3 separate regions of the Homo sapiens genome follow, and regions 1 and 2 are each linked to region 3. The links are contacts of gene promoters, found by promoter capture Hi-C in human tissues and cell types (Jung and others, 2019). All regions are on one chromosome and are shown on one strand. Each heading gives the region's core, a stretch centred on a gene start or on the middle of the fragment in contact. The rest is flanking DNA. Distances are from core to core; before and after follow the strand shown. Region 1 overlaps ZFHX2 (zinc finger homeobox 2). Region 2 holds the start of EFS (embryonal Fyn-associated substrate). Region 3 holds the start of IRF9 (interferon regulatory factor 9).

Region 1 (4,201 bases), core at 759-3,258, 630 kb after region 3:
AGAGGTAGCCCAGGAAAAGAGAGGCCACGCCCCTCGCCCCTTACACGAAGCACTCTGGCCTGAAGCACTACCAGTTTAATCACTAGAGATCTGCTAATACGAGAGCTAGAGAGGACGTAGATGGGCCAACTGGGACCTTGGGGGAAGTATAGGATGGAGAGGCATGGGAATTGGTGAGTTTGAGGGGGAGGTTCCTGATTTAGAAAAAAAAAAAAGGATGGGAGCCTTGGCGCTTCTGTCAGCTGGAGGCAGCCCAGGAATCCTCATTTCTTTCTTTCTGTTTTTTTGGTGAGACGGAGTTTCATTCTTGTTGCCCAGGCTGAAGTACGATGGTGCAGTCCCGATGGTGCAGTCCCGGCTCACTGCAAGCTCTGCCTCCCAGTTTCAAGCTGTTCTCCTGCCTCAGCCTCCTGAGTAGCTGGGATTACAGGCATGCACCACCACGCCCAACTAATTTCTTTGTATTTTTAGTAGAGACAGGGTTTCACCATGTTGGCCAGGCTAGTCTCAAACTCCTGACCTCAGGTGATCTGCCTGCCTCGGCCTCCCAAAGTGCTGGGATTACAGATGTGAGCCACCGTGCCCAGACTGGAATCCTCATTTCTAGTCCTTTGGAGTCTCATTTTACCTGTATTGTGTCCAAGGGACAGTCTAGCTGGGTGGAGGAGTCTAGACCACAACTTTGGGGTTTACTCAGTGCCTCATCAGTCCATTTCTAGTTTCACTATCTTGGAGCTGTGTGACCCTCAGTAGCTCACTTAACATCTCTGTTTCTTGGATGCCCCATCCATAAAATAAGGTTGCTGTGAGATTAAATGAGATGATTAACATAAAGCATTTAACATAGTGCCAGGACCATGGTATATGTACCTACATAACTATTAGTAATATTATTACTATTACTTATTATTTGTTACCTCTTTTGGGAGGAAGAGGAGGCAACCGACTAGCTGTTATCTTTCAACTGACCAGAGAAGCTCCCATCTGTTCCACATGCTGTGACCAGAGATGGATCTGGAAGGCATTGGAGAGAAGCATGGTGCCTGCATGCCAGGGGAAATCAATTATGCCCTATCTCTGGCAAGACTTAGGGAATTTACCTCGTCAGGGTATGGAAAATCTGAGGGTCTTTCCTAGAATTCTGCCATTCAAAAGACACTGACTGTGGCAGGCATTGTTTTCTGTGCTAAAGATAGAGCAAAAACTAAAGCCCCCATTCTGGCTGCTGGATGGAGAGAAAATACACTGTAGCGGGCAGTAGTGGAAGTGGGAGGCCAGTGTGGCATCTGTTGTGTTAGTCCAGGAAAGAGATGATAATGGCCTGCCTTCTGTGCTGCCCGGATTTCAGCGGGCCCCAGGATGGTGTTAGTGAAGGAGATAAATGGAGGGATTGACATGTTTTAGAAGTTGCTGTTGAAGTGGATATGTCCAGTAGGTGAGGGCAAGATAAAACTTTGGGTTTTTAGTCTAAGCCACTGGATAAATGTTGGTACCAACTTTGGAGATAGGAAAGATGGGGAGGAGCAGGTTCAGGGGACAAATAAAGAGTTCTAGGCTGGGCGCGGTGGCTCACGCCTATAATCCTAGCACTTTGGGAGGCCGAGGTGGGCGGATCACTTGAGGTCGGGAGTTAGAGACCAGCCTGACCAACACGGAGAAACCCCGTCTCTACTAAAAATACAAAATTAGTCAGGTGTGGTGGCACAAGCCTGTAATCCCAGCTACTCAGGAGGCTGAGGCAGGAGAATCACTTGAACCCAGGAGGTGGAGGTTGCGGTGAGCCGAGATCACGCCATTGCACTCCATCCTGGGCAACAAGAGCAAAACTCCATCTCAAAAAAAAATTAATTAATTAATAAAATAAAATAAAATAAATAAAATGAAGAGTTCTGATGTTGGACATATTAAGTTTTGAAGCATGTTAGACACTAAGTGAAATTTCAGGTTAGCAAAGTGGTGTCTGAGTCTGGTGTTCAGGGAAGAGGATGGGGCAGGAGTATCCAGAGATCCAGCTGCCCAGCTGGGGTCCCTGCAGCCTCACAGCACTGCTCTCTCCTTGTCTCCCTACAGGGTACTGGCTGTCACGCTGACATGAGCCCCCAGCACTCCTCCGTCTACCATGGCCACCCTTAACTCAGCCTCTACCACTGGTACCACCCCCTCCCCTGGGCACAATGCCCCGTCCCTGCCTTCGGACACCTTCTCCTCCAGCACCCCCTCTGATCCTGTCACCAAAGATCCCCCTGCTGCCTCCTCCACCTCTGAGAACATGAGGTCCTCAGAGCCAGGGGGACAGCTCCTGGAGTCGGGCTGTGGCCTCGTCCCACCAAAGGAGATTGGGGAGCCCCAGGAAGGGCCTGACTGTGGTCACTTCCCACCAAATGACCCAGGGGTGGAAAAGGACAAGGAGCAGGAGGAGGAAGAAGAAGGGCTCCCTCCCATGGACCTAAGCAACCACTTATTCTTCACAGCTGGAGGTGAGGCCTACCTAGTGGCCAAGCTGTCCCTGCCAGGTGGCAGTGAACTCCTGTTACCAAAGGGCTTCCCCTGGGGTGAGGCGGGCATCAAGGAAGAGCCCAGTCTGCCCTTCCTTGCCTACCCACCCCCCTCACACCTCACTGCCCTTCACATCCAACATGGCTTTGACCCAATCCAAGGCTTTAGCTCTTCTGACCAAATTCTGTCCCATGATACCTCAGCACCATCTCCGGCTGCCTGTGAGGAAAGGCATGGAGCTTTCTGGAGCTACCAGCTGGCTCCAAATCCACCCGGAGATCCCAAAGATGGCCCCATGGGGAACAGCGGGGGCAACCACGTGGCGGTCTTCTGGCTCTGCCTTCTGTGCCGCCTGGGTTTCAGCAAGCCCCAGGCCTTTATGGATCACACACAGTCTCATGGGGTGAAGCTAACCCCTGCCCAATATCAGGGCCTGTCAGGTAGCCCAGCTGTACTCCAGGAGGGAGATGAAGGCTGCAAGGCCCTCATAAGCTTTCTGGAGCCAAAACTCCCTGCTCGCCCCTCTTCTGACATACCCCTTGACAACAGCAGCACAGTGAACATGGAGGCGAATGTGGCCCAGACAGAGGATGGCCCCCCTGAGGCAGAAGTCCAGGCCCTTATCCTCCTGGATGAAGAAGTTATGGCCCTCAGCCCACCCTCTCCACCCACAGCCACCTGGGACCCCAGCCCAACCCAAGCCAAAGAATCGCCAGTAGCAGCAGGCGAGGCAGGGCCAGATTGGTTCCCTGAGGGGCAAGAAGAGGATGGAGGGCTCTGCCCCCCACTCAACCAAAGCTCACCCACCTCCAAGGAGGGGGGCACTCTCCCTGCCCCAGTGGGCTCCCCCGAAGACCCCAGTGACCCACCCCAGCCCTATCGCCTAGCTGATGACTACACCCCAGCCCCTGCAGCCTTCCAGGGCCTCAGCCTGTCCAGCCACATGTCCCTGCTCCACTCACGCAACTCCTGCAAGACACTCAAGTGTCCCAAGTGCAACTGGCACTACAAGTACCAGCAGACCCTGGATGTGCACATGCGAGAGAAGCACCCTGAGAGCAACAGTCACTGCAGCTACTGCAGTGCTGGGGGCGCCCACCCCCGCCTTGCTCGTGGAGAGAGCTACAACTGTGGCTACAAACCCTACCGCTGTGACGTCTGCAACTACTCTACAACCACCAAAGGCAACCTCAGCATCCATATGCAGTCTGACAAGCACCTGGCCAACCTACAGGGCTTCCAGGCGGGCCCTGGTGGGCAGGGAAGTCCACCAGAGGCATCACTCCCACCCTCCGCGGGAGACAAAGAGCCTAAGACCAAATCATCCTGGCAGTGCAAGGTGTGCAGCTACGAGACAAACATCTCCCGTAACCTGCGCATCCATATGACCTCTGAGAAGCACATGCAGAATGTCCTAATGCTGCACCAGGGGCTGCCGCTGGGCCTGCCACCTGGATTGATGGGGCCAGGCCCTCCTCCCCCACCAGGGGCTACCCCCACTAGCCCCCCTGAACTCTTCCAGTACTTTGGGCCCCAGGCCCTAGGGCAGCCTCAGACTCCCTTGGCTGGCCCGGGGCTGAGGCCAGACAAGCCCCTGGAAGCCCAGCTACTTCTCAATGGTTTCCACCACGTAGGAGCACCTGCCCGCAAGTTCCCCACATCCGGTAAGCTTCTGTGCTTCTTCCCTCTTCTCTCCTCCCCAGGG
Region 2 (3,897 bases), core at 1,394-3,893, 800 kb after region 3:
GTTTCCTGCCCACCTCCACCTTGGACCCCAATTTGCCTTGGCAGTCTCCTGGGCAGAGATCACACCAAGTCACTCGCCAGCAGCTGGATATCCGTGTGCCTGGCAGCCAGGTCCCCCAGGGCTGGGGTCTGGAAGAGGTTGGAAAATCTTCCCTAGTGGCCACCTCTAACCTAACTGGAGCTGGGAAGCAGGAGCTCTCCCTGGAAATTTAAAAGTTCCTCTACCATCCCAGTGGAGTTGGAATCTATTCAGGAGTCTTCCATCATGGAGAGCCAGCCTAGAGCCAACACAGTTTATCCCCATCCCCATGTTTATCCCAGAATCTCTCCCTATTCCACCCCATAGGCTCCACCACACCCTTCCAGCAGAGGTTTCTTCACAGGTGCCCAGGTAATACAGTGGGGAAGGAGCTGGGGCAGGTGTCCTGACCACACTCTCCTAGGAAATGCCTAGATGTGTGGGCCTGTGGAATATTGAGGCAAGGTTATCTGTCCAGGGCCTCAAGTTCACCAAGGGCCTTATATTACATTTCTGATCTTGTCTCCAAATAAGGTTATGCACAGAGTCATTCTCTATTGTATGTGTTTGAAGCGTTAATTTGTTCAATGTAAACATCCAAAATATACCACAGCTTTCAATCCTGTTTGTCATCTTGCTTTTTAAATACCAGGAACCTCAAAAATGGAAGAAGGCAGGCTTCACTCAAGCCTGAGAGGCCCTGATGTGTGTGTCCCAGAGGGAAGGTCCAGGGAAGCAGCACACACTAAGGAGTTATCCCAGGGCAGAGGAGCTGTAGGGGGCTAGGAGCACCATCCTTTCAGTGGAAACTCCTGGTGGGGCTAGATCCCATCTCCTCTGGAAGAGTTCTAGCAACTTTTGTGCCAGCGGTCCTGCCCAATCCTCTCCTCATAGCAGCAAGAGTGAGCCAGGCTGAGGAGGCCGACAGGCCCAGACTGGCAGAGGAGTGTAAGAGGCCGCACAACCTGCCCGCCTGCAGTTCTGGGGCCAGACGCCCTGCTTCATGTTGTCACTAGGGCCAGAATCCATGTCCAGCGCCAGACTCCCCTCCTGTGCCCCGCAAGAACGGCCCAGCGAACCCTGTGTAGGGGAGGCGCCGAGGATTGGAGAGGCTCTGCTAAGGGCCCCGCTGGGCGGAAGGCGCGCGCTCCCTCCCATGGGAAAGACAGATGTGGGGCTAATGAAAGGGAGGCCGAGAGGCGCGGGGACGGCCGGGGAGACGGGGGCGTGGCGGGGAGAGGAAAGCTCCCGGAGAAAGCCGATCGGACCACCGCAAGCGAGGCATGCAGCGGAGTCCGGAGGAGGAAGGCGCCGGGGACTGGGGCAGGGCCAGGGCGGGACGGGGGTGGGGGGTGTGGGGGGTACCACAGGCAGTTGGACCCGAGGGTCCTGAGCTGAAACTCAACACCCGCCTTTGGAAGGATCGTCCCTCTTTCTCCTCCGCCCCTTCCCTTCCCCTCCCCTTTCCCCTCCCTCCTTTCTCTTAATCCCCAGGACGGAGCCCTGCGCGGGAGAGGAGAGGGCCTGAGGGGAGGAGAAAGGAACAGCACTGAGAGGGGCCAGGAGCCCAGGAAGGGGAGGGAAGGGCAGCCGCGGGCCAGGGGTGAGCCTGCGGGCCACGCGCGACCCCCGGAGCCTTCGCAGCCCTCTCAGTGTCCCCACTCCCAGCCCAGGCGAGTCCACAGGACCCGGGCCCCTGCTCCTCCCTCGCCTTCTCTTTGCTCCTTCTTTTGCTTTGTGGCCTTTCTTTCCCTTCCCAGAGACACCTGGGAGCTGCCCCCAAGCTTTGGGGCGCCCCGCGGGGCCCTGCCAAGGGTGCGTGTGAGAGAGGGCGGCGGAGCCGGCGCCGGGTGCCAGGGGCCGAGGGTGGGAGCGGGAGCTCGTGGCCCTGCGCCCTGGAGCCGAGGACTGGAAGGGGGCTGGGCCCCTCCGCCGCCTGGGCGCAGGCCGCGCGTCGGGAAGGCAGTCCCGCCTGTTCCAGGGGTGCCTGCGTGCTGGTTGCTGCTGCCCGGGGCGAGGCGCCGTAGCGGCGACCTCAGACCCCCGGGCGCGCTGAGTGAGTGCGCGCGTGAAAACCGCCGCACCGCCGGGGGTGCGAGTGTCTGGGCCGAAGCGGCCACTCCAGCGACCCAGCCCCACGGCCACGCTCTCGGGGGCCTTTGGCTCCAGGCAACTTGGGGCAAGCGTCTCAGTTCTCGCTCTCCCTTCCTCCCAGCGGGGTCGCCGCAGACCCCAGCCCTGGGAGCACCGCTCTGCAGCGCGGCCGGCGGGTGGAGACGGTTGGCCCCTAAACTCGCTCGTCCAGCCCAACCGCCCCGGCGGCTTCTCCCAGCCCTCGAGGCTCTCCTGAGCGGCCTGGAGAGGCGTCGAGCGCAGCCCAGCGCCCGCCTGCTCACCCGCCCCGGCCCGGGAAGGGAATTTTCGGATCCTGCGAGCCCGGGGCGCCCCCGCGGCCTAGGGCGGGCAGCTCCCGGGGCCTGGCCGAGCCGGTGGCGCCCGGGAGGCCGCGGGGACAGCACGCAGCGCGCGCCCTTGGATGCCGTCCCGCAGCGACGCCCCGGCCCGCCCCGCTCCTCCTCCTGCCTGGCTAGCCTGCCTCTCATTTGGGAAGTTTTGTGGGTTTTCTTTCTCCTCCTCCAACCTTGGCGGAGGCCACGACTCAGGCGCCACAGCTGGGGGCTAGAGGCCGCGGACCATGGTGCGGGGCAGCCACCGCTGAAGTCAGCAAAACCGAGCCTGGCCTGAGGCAGGCTGCGCGGGAGGCCAAAGCCATGGCCATTGCCACGTCGGTGAGTCCACCAGGGAGTGGAGGCTGCCGGGGAGAGACCTCCACGGCCTGCCCTGCGCTCCTGTCACTTTATTTCTGCCCTCTCTTTGTCTCTCTCCTTGGTCCCTTTCTTCTCCAGGAGGCTGTGTCCCCCTCCTCTCACTTTTGTTTCCCTTCTCCCTCTCACTCCTCATCCCCTGCTCCTCCTGGCTCCGGGCTCGCCCCTCTTCCCCGCCCCCTCCCCATTCTCCTTTTTCTTCCTAGAGGCTGCGCCTGAATGGAGGGGAAGGGGCAAGCGTAGCCCGAGTCCTATCTGCTCCTTTTGGGCGGGAACAGATGGCCACTGGTGGTTGGCAGAGGCTTGTGGTTGGGAGGCAAGTAAAAGGTTTGGAGGGGGCTGAAAGGACCTAGTGGCTCACGGAAAACGGAAAACGAGAGGCTGAACGACCCCAGGAGGCCCATCTCGAGACGAGGGATAAGGAAAAAAGGGAGATAGAGCAAAGGAGGGAGATCAAGAAAGAGAAGACAGAGGGAGGAGGGGAGGTGATGTCAGCCAGAGCCTCAGGCCACTTTCCAGGGATCGGGACAAAGGGAGGAGACAGCTGGCATGATGGGACAGTGGGAGGAGGCCTCCCAGAGAGCACAGAGGCTCTCTGCCACCTACATTAGGCTGGCCATTCCCTCACCAGTCAGCTGGGCTGCTGGGGGATAGAGCAGGAGTGGTCACACCCATCATCAATCAGTCCATCAACAACTCTGTCCTGCAATGGCAGGGCCCAGAGGCTTGGCTCCATTGGACAGAACTCAGTCCTAACACCGGGAGGAGCGCTCTACAGCCCCACCTCTGCTTTCTGTTCTACAGTCTATGCAGTCTGAATCCAGGCAGCTTTGTTCCCTTTCCACCCTCTTCTAGGTCCTGCCTAAGATTCCCAGGGAAGCGAGGCCGTCACCTGCTTTCTGTTCCCTTCTCAGTGGGGACTCTCGGAGAGAGACTGGAAAGAGAAGCACAGAGCCACCCAATGTCCTCCCATACCCTTTGAGGACAGGTTCAAGTTTGGTTCTTTCTCAGACCAAACTCCATTTTTTTTTTTTTTTTGAGACAAGGTCTCACC
Region 3 (4,112 bases), core at 1,613-4,112:
GGAGGAAGCAGAAACTCCAGGGACCTCTGATCCCCTTGAAAGGGGGCCTCAGTTGTGTCTGTAACTGGAAGGGAAGCAAAGGCACTGGTCATTCAGAGTGGGACTGGGGAGTCTTGGGCCAGAGGGTGTGGCATGGGGGACGACACAAGAGGCAGGGCAGGTGGTACCTTCCTGTGGCTCAGGGCTGCTGCTGCTGCTGCTGCTCCCAATGTCTGAATGGACTGCTCCCCCACTGGCCCCCTCCTCCTCCTGCGGACACAGTGTCTTTTTATTTTTTTTCTCTTTTTTTGAGACAGAGTTTCACTCTTGTTGCCCAGGCTGGAGTGCAGTGGCGCGATCTCGGCTCACTGCTATCTCCGCCCCCCGGTTCAAGCGATTCTCCTGCCTCGGCCTCCTGAGTAGCTGGGATTACAGGCAGATGCCACAACGCACAGCTAATTTTTGTATTTTTAGTAGAGACGGGTTCTCACCATGTTGGTCGAGGCTGGTTTCGAACTTCTGACCTCACGTGATCTGCCAGCCTCGGCCTCCCAAGACACAGTGTCTTTCATTGGCCCACCTCTCCCTCTGGTTACTGTCCTGCCCTTAGGCCCACCCAGTTCCCTCTCCATCTCTTACATTATTGAGGGAGTCCTGGAGCACAGAGGGACTGAGTGTGCAGTTCTGCATGGCATCCTCTTCCTCCTTCCTCTCAGAGGACACAGAACTGTGCTGTCGCTTTGATGGTACTTTCTGAGTCCCTGGCTGGCCTGTGGAATTGTTGAGGGACAGAGAAAGGTCAGGGTCTTGAGCAAGGACAGAGGGTGAAGGAGAGGTCTGAGGCAGTGAAGGATGGGCAGGTCTAGGAAGGGAAACCTGGGTTGCAGCCCCCCAAGGGCATGGACAGGGCAGAGCTATAAGCCTGGGGGAAGCCTGCACATCTATCCTTCCTCCCCAGTCTGCTGAGTCTAGCAGTGGTTGGACAAGGGGAAACTCACCAGAGACGATTCCTGGTGGCAGCAACTGATACACCTTGTAGGGCTCAGCAACATCCATGCGGCCCCTCTCAGGAACCTCCTTAAATTCAGAACTCTTGTTGAGTGCACAGCGCAGGCGAGTCTTCCAGACAGCTGGACCTCCTGTGTCCCCCTCCTTATACTTTCCCTTAAATATTGCCCAGGCCTAGGAAAGAAAGCAAGGGAAGAAGAGGCAGTGTGTTACAGGCTCCACCTGCCCCTCCAATAGGACTGGCTTTACAGGCGTGCAGCTCTGAGCTCAGAAGGGATTATGCAGGGTCTGTGCTCTGCGTTGCCATCTTGAAATCCTTGGAAATTTTTTTTTTTTTTTTTTGAGACAGAGTCTCACTCTGTCACCAGGCTGGAGTGCAGTGGTGCGATCTCGACTCACTACAACTCCACCTCCCTGGTTCAAGCGATTCTCCTGCCTCAGTCTCCCGAGTAGCTGGGACTACAGGCATGCACCGCTAGGCCCAGCTAAGTTTTGTATTTTTAGTAGAGACAGGGTTTCACCATGTTGGCCAGGCTGGTCTTGATCTCTTGACCTCGTGATCCACCCACCTTGGCCTCCCGAAGTGCTGGGATTACAGGCGTGAGCCACCGTGCCTGGCCAATATCCCTAAAATTTTTGAACAAGGCCTCCACATTTTCATTTTGTACTGGACTCTGCAAATGATGCAGCTAGTTTTCCTCTCCAATCTGTCCCTTATCTGAAACCCAGGCAGACGCAAGTGCTCGAGGATGAGTGTACCAGTGTGTATACACCATCCCACACACAGAGGAACAGTGGTTTCCAGGCCCTTTCACCTTGAAGAAGGCAGCATCCTGGTCCTCCCGGAAGTCCTGCTTGCCTGCATGTTTCCAGGGAATCCGGAACATGGTCTTAGCTGTATCATCCCAGCACACTCCGGGAAACTGCCCACTCTCCACTTGCTCCACCACCCAGTTCCGGAGTTTTCGGGTGCAGCGTGCCCTGCCTGATGCCATCCTGGGGGATAATAGGAGCAGGATGCATCAGAACTGACACTTTGGGAGGGAACATCTCCTGAGACCCTGGCCATTGAGACTAGATTCTGGCAACAGGTCCCAGAGATCCCATCCATCTTCTTTTAGCTCCAAACACATTTCAACACTCTATGGGACAGAATTGTTTCCTTTCTGCCATCACTAGCAGTGACAAACAACAACAACAACAACAAAACCCCCCAAAACATTGTTTTTAGCACTCTAAGCTGTGATACCTGGAAGGAAACCTTGGGCACTGGTCTTAATTTTAGGACTTTTCAGAGATGTATTGTTTACAAAAGAATTCCTTTGGTGATCGTTCCTGGTGACAGGCCCTGTCTAGATTCCCGAGCATCAGCAGAGGTAGGTTCTGCTGAGATCCATCAGGCTCTTCACCCACCGCCCCACAGCCTACACAACCTAGCCTGACCCCCACCCCCTGCCGGCCCCAGGAGTAGGTGGGGCAGGAAGTAGGGGTGGGGTTGGAGCTGCAGCAGAAGTGGGCAGGGCCAGATGGCAAGGAAACAAATGGTCCACTGAGGCTGGGGCCAGGAGCCTTCTTCCTTGAACAATCCAGCAGTAGGTCCTCCTGACCTTTGCCTACAAGGGTCTGGGGAGCTGGCCCTTGTCAGTCTCACTCTCAGGCTGAATCTCCCACTTCCTGACTTAAGAGATCTTCTGTCTATCCCTCAGTCTAACAGAGCGACCCCTAGGACCCCCTGCCCTCAATCTGGCTGGACTTTCTAGCCCTAGATCCCAGGCTGACTCCCATCCTTGGCTGATCTTACCTGAGTTGCTGTCCAGGCTGTCGCAGGGCTCAGACGACCTCAGCTTAACTCCTGGCTGGGCGGCTGATCTCTCCGCCCCTTTCTACAGTCCCCACCCTAAGTTTCAGTTCTCCTCCAGGGAGGGCCTTTTCCCAGAAATCACGTGGTCTGAGTTGCAGGGAACTGGCGGCCACTAGAGGGCAGCAGCATCTGAGCATCTCACTATCAGGATGCCACTGTCGCAGCAGGGGGGCCCTGCCCTGCTGGCTCAGCTCCAGCCTGGCTCATTCCCCTGCCTCCCTCAGATACTCTTGCTTCTATCTGACCTCTGGGTGACACCGTGGCTTCCCCAGGGAGGCCAGTTTCCTGGAGTCAGGCCTGGGACCTCTGGACTGCTGTGTACACCTGTGCATCTGCATTCCCCCACAGTGCCCACCTGATACATATTGGGTGACTTCAAATACCAGTCAAATTCTATGAAAGGAAAAAAGGAGGCAGGGAGGGAGGAAGCCCAGGCCAGGCTGCTGGATGGGGAGGGCCTCCCTTGACCATCCAGGGTGTCAACTCCTTCCTGGTCCTGAGTCCAGGGAGGGTCAGGCACTAGGTTGCAGGGGGCCCTTTTCAGCAAAGCTCTGTTCACCCCGCTCTTTCCCTGGTGCCCCTAGATGGTGGCACCAGGAAGAAGGACCACCAAGAAGCCTGGGTGGTAAGATGCCTCTTTATTGGTGCTGGAGCTGTTCCTGAGGGAGCAGGCCATGGGACCCTCATCGGGACCCTTGCCCTCAGCTACTTCCGCCTGCGGGGGATACTCTGTCCCAAGGGTACCTCTTCTGTCAGCTTCTGCAGAAGGAGAGAGAAGGTAATGATATTGGAAGCCTGGAGCTCAGACACAGTCAGCACCAGGTGACTTCTGTAGGGTGGGTTAAGAGATGAGGCTGGGTGGAGGCTATACCTGTAACAAGCGGGCCTGGTAAGCAGGGGGATCCTCTCCAGCCAAAGGCTGGGGGCGTACGTGCAGGTAGCGCTCAGTGGCCGTCTCCAGCTCTTCCACCTCATACAAGGTGGCTGGGTCCAGCGAGTGGGCATTGATGAGGCTCACAAGATACTCTTTGTAGTGTGCCCTGGGGAGAAAAGGGAGCAGAATATTTGTTGTGTTGGCTAATATTAACTGAGTGTGTCTAACATAGCTGGACTCTGAGACACCTGGACGAACAAGATTAACAACCCACCTGTGCCCACACTGCCTGCTACTATCTACCCATGCCCTTGCCCAGAAAGCCTCCTCCCTCCCACCCACTGCAAGACCTACTGCTCCCAAGGACCCATTTTACTGCCTGGGCATGCC

What was found. Contacts are between HindIII fragments. The study calls those that stand out against the background at their distance.
Region 1: a contact is called between a fragment that was not itself captured here and the fragment with the promoter of IRF9 in region 3, in 1 of the 25 tissues and cell types used here (H1 embryonic stem cells).
Region 2: a contact is called between the fragment with the promoter of EFS here and the fragment with the promoter of IRF9 in region 3, in 1 of the 25 tissues and cell types used here (dorsolateral prefrontal cortex).

Annotation. Positions count from the first base shown.
Region 1 is chr14:23,533,244-23,537,444 of GRCh38, reverse strand. It overlaps ZFHX2 (zinc finger homeobox 2), which reads left to right. Exons shown (of 10, transcript NM_033400.3): 2 at 2,071-4,160. The coding sequence starts at 2,120. It also overlaps a transcript of THTPA not described here. Among named protein-coding and RNA genes, the nearest start is that of ZFHX2, 16 kb to the left of the region's middle. RefSeq lists an enhancer at 1-29. The HindIII fragment of the contact is 6,986 bases long and covers 1-4,201 here.
Region 2 is chr14:23,363,918-23,367,814 of GRCh38, reverse strand. It overlaps EFS (embryonal Fyn-associated substrate), which reads left to right and starts at 2,643. Exons shown (of 6, transcript NM_005864.4): 1 at 2,643-2,807. The coding sequence starts at 2,790. RefSeq lists an enhancer at 3,545-3,897. The HindIII fragment of the contact is 8,966 bases long and covers 738-3,897 here.
Region 3 is chr14:24,160,015-24,164,126 of GRCh38, reverse strand. IRF9 (interferon regulatory factor 9) reads right to left here and starts at 2,862. Exons shown (of 9, transcript NM_006084.5): 1 at 2,789-2,862; 2 at 1,803-1,983; 3 at 978-1,161; 4 at 619-749; 5 at 168-249; 6 at 1-64. The coding sequence starts at 1,982. RNF31 (ring finger protein 31) reads right to left here. Exons shown (of 21, transcript NM_017999.5): 20 at 3,720-3,888; 21 at 3,472-3,607. The coding sequence ends at 3,554. RefSeq lists enhancers at 1,697-1,756, 2,746-3,135. The HindIII fragment of the contact is 9,939 bases long and covers 1-4,112 here.